Linked DNA regions of Homo sapiens: all the other regions are linked to region 1. The links are contacts of gene promoters, found by promoter capture Hi-C in human tissues and cell types (Jung and others, 2019). All regions are on one chromosome and are shown on one strand. Each heading gives the region's core, a stretch centred on a gene start or on the middle of the fragment in contact. The rest is flanking DNA. Distances are from core to core; before and after follow the strand shown. Region 1 holds the start of ACP2 (acid phosphatase 2, lysosomal). Region 2 holds the start of AGBL2 (AGBL carboxypeptidase 2). Region 3 overlaps CELF1 (CUGBP Elav-like family member 1).

Region 1 (3,000 bases), core at 263-2,762:
ACAACTGAATGCAAAGTGCTAGCACAGTCCTTGGCCTTTAATAGGTACTCAATGTCTTGGATGGAAAGCCTGTGATTTCACAGTCAGAAACCACTTTGCCAGGCCCGCCCTTAAGTCCGAATTTGGATGCTTAATCAAATTTGCCTCATCCCAGCCAAGCAGGGGCAACTCAGCTCCTAGGGCTTTGTTCCAGACAGCTCTCAGATGTCTTTTCCTGTAGTTGTGACCAAAAATACAAGAAGGAGGCCAAAGTGCCCAGCCTCAGCCTTAGGCTCCCTGAGGGCAAAAGATGAGGGCAGCATACCTTGTTCCCCTTGCCTCTGGAGCTCCCAACCTTACCTCTTGCCGGTGATAAGAGGTGTTTAGGAAGCCGTGATAGCGCTGCCGCAGGGCCTGGCCCAGTTCCCAGTGCTGTAGCATCCCCTCCTGTGGGCAAACCCAAGGGTTAAGAGGGTCTAGAGGGAAGGGGTGGCTTCAAGCCCCATGGGGTTTAGGCCCTGTTGCTTTCCAGGTTCACGCTTTGCTGGAGTCAATTAATCTGATCCCAGAAGTCTTTCATTAAGTGGCCAGTCATGCACAGCAATATCATGGGCACAGAGATTAAGGTTATGAAATCTGGTCAAAGTCAGCACCCATATGGGAAAAGGCAGTTTAGTAGGACCCCAAGTTTTGTAGACTGCTCTAGACGTCGCTCATTCTGCAGCTCATCCTGAGGAAAGGCTGGCTTCTGACCCACCTTGGTTAACTGACCAAACCCCTGGGGCCATTCTTCTTCCTGATAGGGGTCCTTGGGATATGTCTTCACTGGTGAACGGTCTCCATGGCGGTACAGCTGAGAGAATAAAATGGTTTGCCTATAGGTCAGAAGCATCCCCTTGATAGGGACCCAGAGCCTACCTTTTGCCCCATGTTAGGGAAGGAAGTCTCATTCCCTCTGGGAAGCCTACTGGCTGCAAAAGACCCCAGCTAGGAGTCAGTCACTTCTTCCAGATTCCAGAGATTCTAACTTAGCTAAGCAATGCTACTGGAGACCATAGGCAAAGCCAAGGTACAGGTAGGAAGGGAAAAGAGAAGTGAAAGCAACGTATGTGGTGGGGACAACTGGGGAAAAAAGATAACCAAAGGCTTCTTTAGGGATGAGTCTTAACCATTCAACCACTTCCCTGTCTCAAGGCAGACTCACCCCGACGTATTCGGTCATCCTGACTCCCATAAGCCAGGGCTCCAGGTCAATCCTGAATCCAGCCTCCCAACTACCCAGGCCAGTCGTCCCCTCCTAAACCAGCTGTTCCTTCCCGAGATCCTCGACCTCCACCAGCTGGCCTTTGCCCTTTTAGCTTCAGGGAAGTCTTTGGTGAGCCCATCTCTCATTACCAAGGTAACGAAGCGCAGACTCCGGGCCCGGGTGGGCGGCATCACCACCAGGTTCACGCCGAGAAGGAGCTGGAGGAGAGCCGCCCGGCTCCAGCCGGACCGCTTGCCCGCCATCACCGTTGTAATCTATGCAGCAAACAAGCTGGAACCCGCTGGGTGGCACCTGCAAGCAGCCGCCCGGACGCACCCGTAAGGACACACGCCGGAAGTGCGTTCGCCGCCATCTTACTTAGGGACCTGCTGGGGTGCGGGGAAAAGGCGCAGTCTCGGTGGGATTGCGTGCAGGAGGGTCGTGGTCTGGCTGTGGCGGAGGAGCATAAGAAGGTAACGCGACCTGGCGCGGCAGACAGGGCTCGAAGACCTCATCTTGATTAAGAAGGCCACAAATTCGCGTTTGCCTCTGCTCGGAGAAATCCCTTACCAAGGTGGCACTTGCAGTGGGCGGGACCATGTCTGGAGAACCAGCGTCCCCTCCAGGCTTGACCCCATAGCTAGATCGGGTGCAGAATTGAGGCGAGGGATGGGAAAGTAGAGGTCGCTTCTCTCCACGCCCCTGCCTTTGTGGGGAGATTGAGCCCTGGCCCTGTTCTCCAGGAGATGTTTTGCTTGGGGTGCAGGACACAGTATGTAAACAACCCTTTGGACTCCGTGTGTCCTTGAGGTTGCCCCAGTCTGGCCTACCGTTCCTGCCCTGCACAAAGCTTCAGTAGCCCTCTCACTTTCCCTTCCAGTCCTTTCCCTGTCCTCCCTCCCCTCCACTTCCAAGTTTTAGTTAATTAGAGTCAAGACGTCATGTCATGCCTCTTCCCAAAGGAGTTGGGTTGCACAGGATGTTCAGACTTTACAAACCCAAAGCACTGAATCCCTGGGGGAGGAATTTCAGACCAGTGGGGAGGTATTTTGAGGTAAGGGACAGGCGCATATCATAAAGTGGGAGTAGGTGGGGTTTCCACAGAATCAATGGCCCTCTTGGCATTGACCATTAGGATTCAGGTGCAGCCAGTTTGGCCTCAGGACTTTGTGACTCCTGTGACGGTTGCAGGTCAGATCATAGGTCCTGGGGATGCTTTGATTCAGATCTGCCTACTGGAAGCAAATCTCCTCAGATCTTTGGGAAACAAAACTGATCAGGCTTGGCCTGGGCGCCGTGGCTCACCTGTAATACCAGCACTTTGAGAGGCCGAAGCAGGCAGATCACCTGAGGTCAGGAGTTCGAGACCAGCCTGGCCAACGTGGCGAAACCCCGTCTCTACTAAAAATACAAAAAAAAAAAAATTAGCCGGGTGCAGTGGCGTGCTCCTGTAATCCCAGCTACTCTGGAGGCTGAGGCAGGAGAATCGCTTGAACTCGGAAAGCGGAGGTTGCAGTGAGCTGAGATCACGCCACTGCACTCCAGCCTGCGCGACAGAGTGAGACTGTCTCAAAACAACAACAACAAAAACCTGATTAGGCTTGGTGTGGTGGCTCACGTTTCTAATCCCAGCACTTTGGGAGGCCAGGGTGGGAAGATTGCTTGAGCCCAGGAGTTGGAGACCAGCCTGAGCAGCTTAGGAAGATCTCCTCTCTACAAAAAAAAGTTTAAAAATTAGCTGGGTGTGGTGGCACACACCTGTGGTCCTAGCTCCT
Region 2 (3,000 bases), core at 372-2,871, 470 kb after region 1:
CCGGCTAATTTTTTTGTATTTTTAGTAGAGACGGGGTTTCACCGTGTTAGCCAGGATGGTCTCGATCTCCTGACCTCGTGCTCCACCCGTCTCGGCCTCCCAAAGTGCTGTGATTACAGGTGTGAGCCACCGTGCCCGGCCGCCAATTGTAAAATTTATATAGTAAGGCAAAGACTCAAGAACAGCCGTGACACTTCTGAAGAACAAGGTGGGAAGACATGTCTTTCCAGATAAAGACTATTTTAATGCCATATAGTAATTAAGAGACAGTGATACTGGTAAAGGATAGCCAAACAGACCAATGGAATAGAGAGCCCAGAAACAGACCTTTGTATTAAGTGATGCTGTCTACTTGACAGAGGTGACCCGCAGATCAATGGGGAAAGGAAGTACTTTTCACTAATGGTAGAGGAAAAAGTATTTATTTGTCAATGCAAATTATTTATTAGTCTACCCAAGTGCAACCCTCCCAGCTAACGAAGCAATTTTCCTCTTGAGTCCAGGAAAGGTGATACTAGATAAGAACATGGTATTACCTTTAAAGTAGCCATAATATTGGAGGTGACGGTACATAAAGTCTTCATAAGGATCAGGAATAGTCTGTGAAAGGAAAGGCCACTTCAATCAAGATAATGTTTTCAAACCATAATAGACTCAACAAAAAGTACATGAGCGTTGTTGCATAGGACTAGACTAAACCAAGCGAGCTGCATTCCATGCGAATTATTCTATCGTGGGGATCAAGATCTCCAGCTGAGAAAAGATGCCACCAGAACATCCCTTCTCATCTAGTAGCAGATTTCTGTGGAGTTCCCGAAGAAATGGAGTTCCCCGAAGAAATTTCTGTGGCTTTCCGTGTTGTGTACCGACCTGCTTTAGGTGCGTTTCCAAAGCTGGGAACATGTTACTTCTGGATGGTAGGCTGAAAACTAGTCAGTGACATTAGCATCCAGTCGCAAACCCTGCCCAATTTCCAAATAGGCAGCTGATTACACAAGAGAAGCTACAAAGCCACAAGAGGACAAGTGAAAAAACTGCCAATACCTCCCCGGGCGCCCCCCAGCTCCCTCTTGACTTCAGAAAACCCTGCCAACCCAGCTTCTCCTCAGCTAAACAAGGTGGTCACGCCGAGGCCAGAGGTGCATCTGAGACAGGGAGGGCAGCGTATCTTCCCGCTTCTTCTTCCCAAGGTGCTGGCCCCATGCTTCCCTTTCCCTGAGAAAGGAGATGCTCGCCACAGGAAAGTGAAAGAAATGGGTATGGGAGCACGCGACGAAGTCGTCTCGGTAGGTGCCGATGGAAAAAGGTCAGGGGGTTGGGAAAGTGGGCCCTAAAGATTGAATTTAGGGTTCAGAGGAACCTGGTCTGGGGCAGGTGGTGAGGGGGTTTCCTAAGGGTAGGAGCGGGGAAGGAGAGCAGAAACTTCCCAGGAGGGCAGAGCGATGGATGCGACCGCCTTCGCGCCCCGGCCCGTCCCAAGCAGCACGGATGGCTGCGGCAGAGAAGCTCCAGCGAGGCAGGCGGCCACCGCACTTAAGTACAGAGGCCAAGCAGTGTGCGGGCAAGGGGACAAACTCGCTGCACCCGCCCGCCACCGCCTTCTGTGAGGGCCCGGGTAGTCTAGCAACCGAAAGCAGGAAGCGGAGAAAGGGCGGGGCGGTCGGGCGCTTCCGGGGAGCTAGGCCTCGCCCCCAAGGAGGGAGCGGGGACCCCGGGAAGGTCTGCAACATGTATGGCGGGCAGCGGCTTTCTTCCCCTCATACATCACAGCCCCAGCCTCGGAATCGAAACCGCATTGATGAGTACGATGCCAGTAGCCTTCAACATACTTCCAAGCTGGTTTGCTGTTGGCTTTAGATAACTGTTATGCATAATTTGCTCTAAGAGAGCTGCTGCTTCTCTCCTTTCACCTTAACATTCTCTCCACTGCACAGCTAGAAAGGAAAAATTACCTTCTACACTGCAAATCTTAAGAAACAGAGCTAACAAATTCAAATCACACATTTTGATTAGGTTTAAAAAAATCAATTATATGCATAGAAATTTACTCCAGGCCAGGCGCGGTGGCTCTCGCCTGTAATCCCAGAACTTTGGGAGGTCGAGAGTTGGAGACTAGCCTGACCAACATGGAAAAACCCCATCTCTACTAAAAATACAAAATTAGCTGGGTGTGGTGGCGCATGCCTGTAATCCCAGCTACTCGGGAGGCTGAGGCAGGAGAATCACTTGAACCTGGGAGGCGGAGGTTGCGGTGAGCCGAGATCGTGCCATTGCACTCCAGCCTGAGCAACAAGAGCGAAATTCTGTCTCCAGAAAAAAAAAAAACAAAAAACCAACAACAAAAAAATAAATATACTACAATAAAATTCAAACACGTGTCTTTGGTTAACTATATATGAATATAACCGTATCTGTTACTTTTATCAGTGGGGGGAAAAAAGCTATAAAGCACCTTTTTTTCTGAAATGTTAACCATATTACATCATTGCCAGGAATTAAGTAGGTAAAATATTATCTAATATGGCTATTAACCAATCTAGATATTATAGATAATATTAGACCCCAAAACTTTGATCACACAGCACCATCTGGGACTAGAAGCCTGTTTGTCTAAACTGGCCCCACCACTCCCCATTAAAGATCTCCTGCTCATTTTCTTGAAAGCTGTTGTTAAATGTTTGCACCTTGCATTGTATATGCTTAGAAAAAAAAACAAGTCCTGGTTACATAATCAGAATAACAGGAGTTGACGAGCAAAAGGATAACCCATCAGGATTATAAAAAAAGCTTTATTAGTGCATATATACAAATTTACAAGGTCAGAAACTGGAGAAATACAAAGAGCTTTAAAACACAATTTGCCGTTTCCTCAGTTTAAAGTGACTTTTACCTGATTGTGATACAACAGAAAGTACAGAACAGTAAACTGCTTTTTAAATACTGGAATTTTATGGAGAATACATTCACATAAAGAAAGGAGGTGAATTTTGTTTTGGAACA
Region 3 (3,000 bases), core at 161-2,660, 290 kb after region 1:
AATTAACAAAAACTTAACAGATGTCCAAATAATACTGGGTTAAAAAAGACAATCTACTCACAGTAGACTATTAGTCACCTCACATTATCACCAATATCATACATATTCACACAGTCTGCAAGAGCTTACTCAATCTCACAGGAAACAAAAAGGTAAAAGAACAAGGAGAAAGTGGTGACAGTTTCTAACTTAATGATTATTTTGCTAAAGAGTAGCAATGTTACTATGAAAATGGAAACTACTTGGCCAGGTGTGGAGGCTCACACTTGTAATCCCAGCACTTTGGGAGGCCAAGGCGGGTGGATCTCCTGAGGTCAGGAGTTTGAGACCAGCCTGGCCAACATGGTGAAACCCCGTCTCTACTTAAAACACAAAATTAGCTGGGTGTGGTGGCGCATGCCTATAATCCCAGCAACTTGGGAGGCTGAGGCAGGAGAATCGCTTGAACCCAGGAGGCAGAGGTTGCAGCGAGCCAAGATCTCACCACTGTACTCCAGAGCCTGGTGACAGGGCGAGACTGTCAAAGAAAGAAAGAAAGAAAGAAAGAAAGAAAGAAAGAAAGAACGAAAGAAAGAACGAAAGAAAGAAAGAACGAAAGAAAGAACGAAAGAAAGAACGAAAGAAAGAACGAAAGAAAGAAAGAAAGAAAGAAAGAAAGAAAGAAAGAAAGAAAATGGAAACTACTGACCCTTCGAAATTAAAAGTATAACAGTACAAAATTACACAGCCCAGGAATCAAAAAACTTCATTTTGCATAATCCCCAAACTAAAGACATTCCCCCCCAAAACACAGTTTTAATGGAGTTATAACTTAGAAAGAAAGTAAAATTATTCAACTCCATTTTGTCAAAGCTGAATGTAGCTATAAAAAGAAGACCTGGAGGTCATAAAGTTAGTGGAGAGTTCTTTCTAAAGCCGTACTGGGCTGGGCGCGGTGGCGTGCGTCTGTAATTTCAGCACTTCGGGAGGCCGAGGCAGGTGGATCACCTGAGGTCAGGAGTTCGAGACCAGCCTAGCCAACATGGTGAAACCCCATCTCTACTAAAAATACAAAAATTAGCCAGGCATGCTGGCAGGTGCCTATAATCCCAGCTACTCGAGGTTGAGGCAGAAGAATCGCTTCAACCCGGGAGGCGAAGGCTGCAGTGAGCTGAGATCGCACCACTGCACTCCACCCTGGGCAACAAGAGTGAAACTCTGTCTCAAATAAATAAAGCCGTATCTGCACCCATGAACATATCTAAAAGTGGCACATCAAATTTGATTAAGTGAGATCCATTAGGTATCAATGCAATCACTAAAAAAACCTCATCATTCTTGATACTTTCTCCATTTTTTTTTTTTTTTTTTTTTGAGACAGGGTCTCCCTGTTGCCCAGGCTGGAGTGTAGTGGCGTGATCTCAGTTCACTGCAACCTTCACCTCCTGGGTTCAAGCCATTCTTGTGCCTCAGCCACTTGAGGAGCTGGGATTACAGACACGCACCACCACATCTGGCTAAGTCTTGTATTTTCAGTAGAGACAGTGTTTCACCATGTTGGCCAGGCTGGTCTCAAACTTCTGGCCTCACGTGATCCGCGTGTCTTGGCCTCCCAAAGTGCTGGGATTAAAGGCGTGAGCCACCGTGCTCAGCTTTACAACATATCAACAGGGCTGGACTGTGCTCATCTTTAGAAAATATCAACAGGGCTGGGTGCGGCAGCTCACACCTGTAATCCCAACACTTTGGGAGGCCAAGGCAGGAGGATCACTTGAGGACAGGTGTTCAAGACTAGGAGAGATCCCGTCTCTACAAATACTACAAAAATTAGCCAGGTGTAGCAGTGTGCACCTGTAGTCCCAGCTACTCGGAAAGCTGAGGCTGGAGGATCGCTTGAGCCCAAGAGTTCCAGGCTATAATTGCACCACTGCACTCAAGTCTGGGCAACAAAGAGAGATCCTGTCTCTAATGGAAAAGAAGGCCAGCATGGTAGCTCATGCCTGTAATCCCAGCACTTTGGGAGGCCGAGGCAGGAGGATTGCTAGAGACCAGGGGGTCAAGACCAGCCTGGGAAACATAGTGGGACCCCATCTCTACAAAAAATAAAATTAGCCAAGCGTGGTGTTGCGCACCTATAGTCCCGGCTACTTGGGAGGCTGAGGTGGGGAAGAATCACTTGAGGCCTGGGAGGTTGAGGCTACAGTGAGCCACGATAACGCCACTGCACTCCAGCCTGAGTGACACAATGAGACCTTGTCTCGGAAAACAACAGCCCAAAAAAGCCCCAAACTTTACAAATCTGGAACTTAATGAAGTGTAAAATAAACAAATATGTACTCATGGCCTCCACAGCACAGCAGAGGTTAAAAAATAACTATAGAATTCTATAAAGAAACCTCTACTTTAAGAAGATTCTAAGCCAATTCTATGACAAGACCAAAGTTATTTTACAAAGGTCTCATCAAGGAAACTGTCTTCAAGGCAGTCATGATGTTGCCCTCCTGTAATCAATCCCAACTACTCAGGAGGCTGAGACAGGAGGACTGCTTGAGCTCAAGAGTTTGCACCAGTTTGGGCTACATAGCGGACCCGTGGACCCCTGTCCCCACCCCGTCTCTAAAAAAAAAAGAAAGCTGTTTTCGGCAAATAAGGACTCTTGATACAATATAGTTTACAAAGCAAATAGCTAAAACTGATTAAGTCTTAAATCTGCATTACAACTCTAAATATTAGAGCCCTCCTCCCCGCCTCAACTTGTCACTTGAAACTACGAAGAGACCCAAGTGTCCCCTATTACAAATCCAAAATATTCATTTATAATTTTCAGTTTTCTTTGAACACAGAAGCCTCCTAACAGTAGACTCTCAAAGTAGAAATAGTGAATATGAAATCTAGGAAACCATATTACCCAAGTATTCCACAAGGAACAACGTCCTGTTTAGCACAGCATTTCAGACACACAAATCTTATCCCTTAAGCCACAACAGACACAAGAAAATGCAAAACAAAATGCACTCATAA

The links. The method cuts DNA at HindIII sites, captures the fragments that hold promoters and counts their contacts. A contact is called where the count stands out against the background at its distance.
Region 2: the fragment with the promoter of AGBL2 here is called in contact with the fragment with the promoter of ACP2 in region 1 in 2 of the 25 tissues and cell types used here (adrenal gland and heart left ventricle).
Region 3: a fragment that was not itself captured here is called in contact with the fragment with the promoter of ACP2 in region 1 in 1 of the 25 tissues and cell types used here (hippocampus).

What each region holds. Positions count from the first base shown.
Region 1 is chr11:47,247,302-47,250,301 of GRCh38, forward strand. It overlaps ACP2 (acid phosphatase 2, lysosomal), which reads right to left and starts at 1,513. Exons shown (of 11, transcript NM_001610.4): 1 at 1,375-1,513; 2 at 737-832; 3 at 340-426. The coding sequence starts at 1,488. It also overlaps a transcript of NR1H3 not described here. RefSeq lists enhancers at 979-1,068, 1,199-1,708 and a silencer at 1,789-1,956. The HindIII fragment of the contact is 13,067 bases long and covers 1-3,000 here.
Region 2 is chr11:47,713,748-47,716,747 of GRCh38, forward strand. It overlaps AGBL2 (AGBL carboxypeptidase 2), which reads right to left and starts at 1,622. Exons shown (of 19, transcript NM_024783.4): 1 at 1,428-1,622; 2 at 871-1,003; 3 at 537-600. The coding sequence starts at 903. FNBP4 (formin binding protein 4) reads right to left here. Exons shown (of 17, transcript NM_015308.5): 17 at 2,747-3,000. RefSeq lists an enhancer at 1,300-1,359. The HindIII fragment of the contact is 9,102 bases long and covers 1-3,000 here.
Region 3 is chr11:47,541,165-47,544,164 of GRCh38, forward strand. All of the region lies in intron 1 of CELF1 (CUGBP Elav-like family member 1), which reads right to left. Among named protein-coding and RNA genes, the nearest start is that of CELF1, 10 kb to the right of the region's middle. RefSeq lists an enhancer at 1,003-1,502. The HindIII fragment of the contact is 9,031 bases long and covers 1-3,000 here.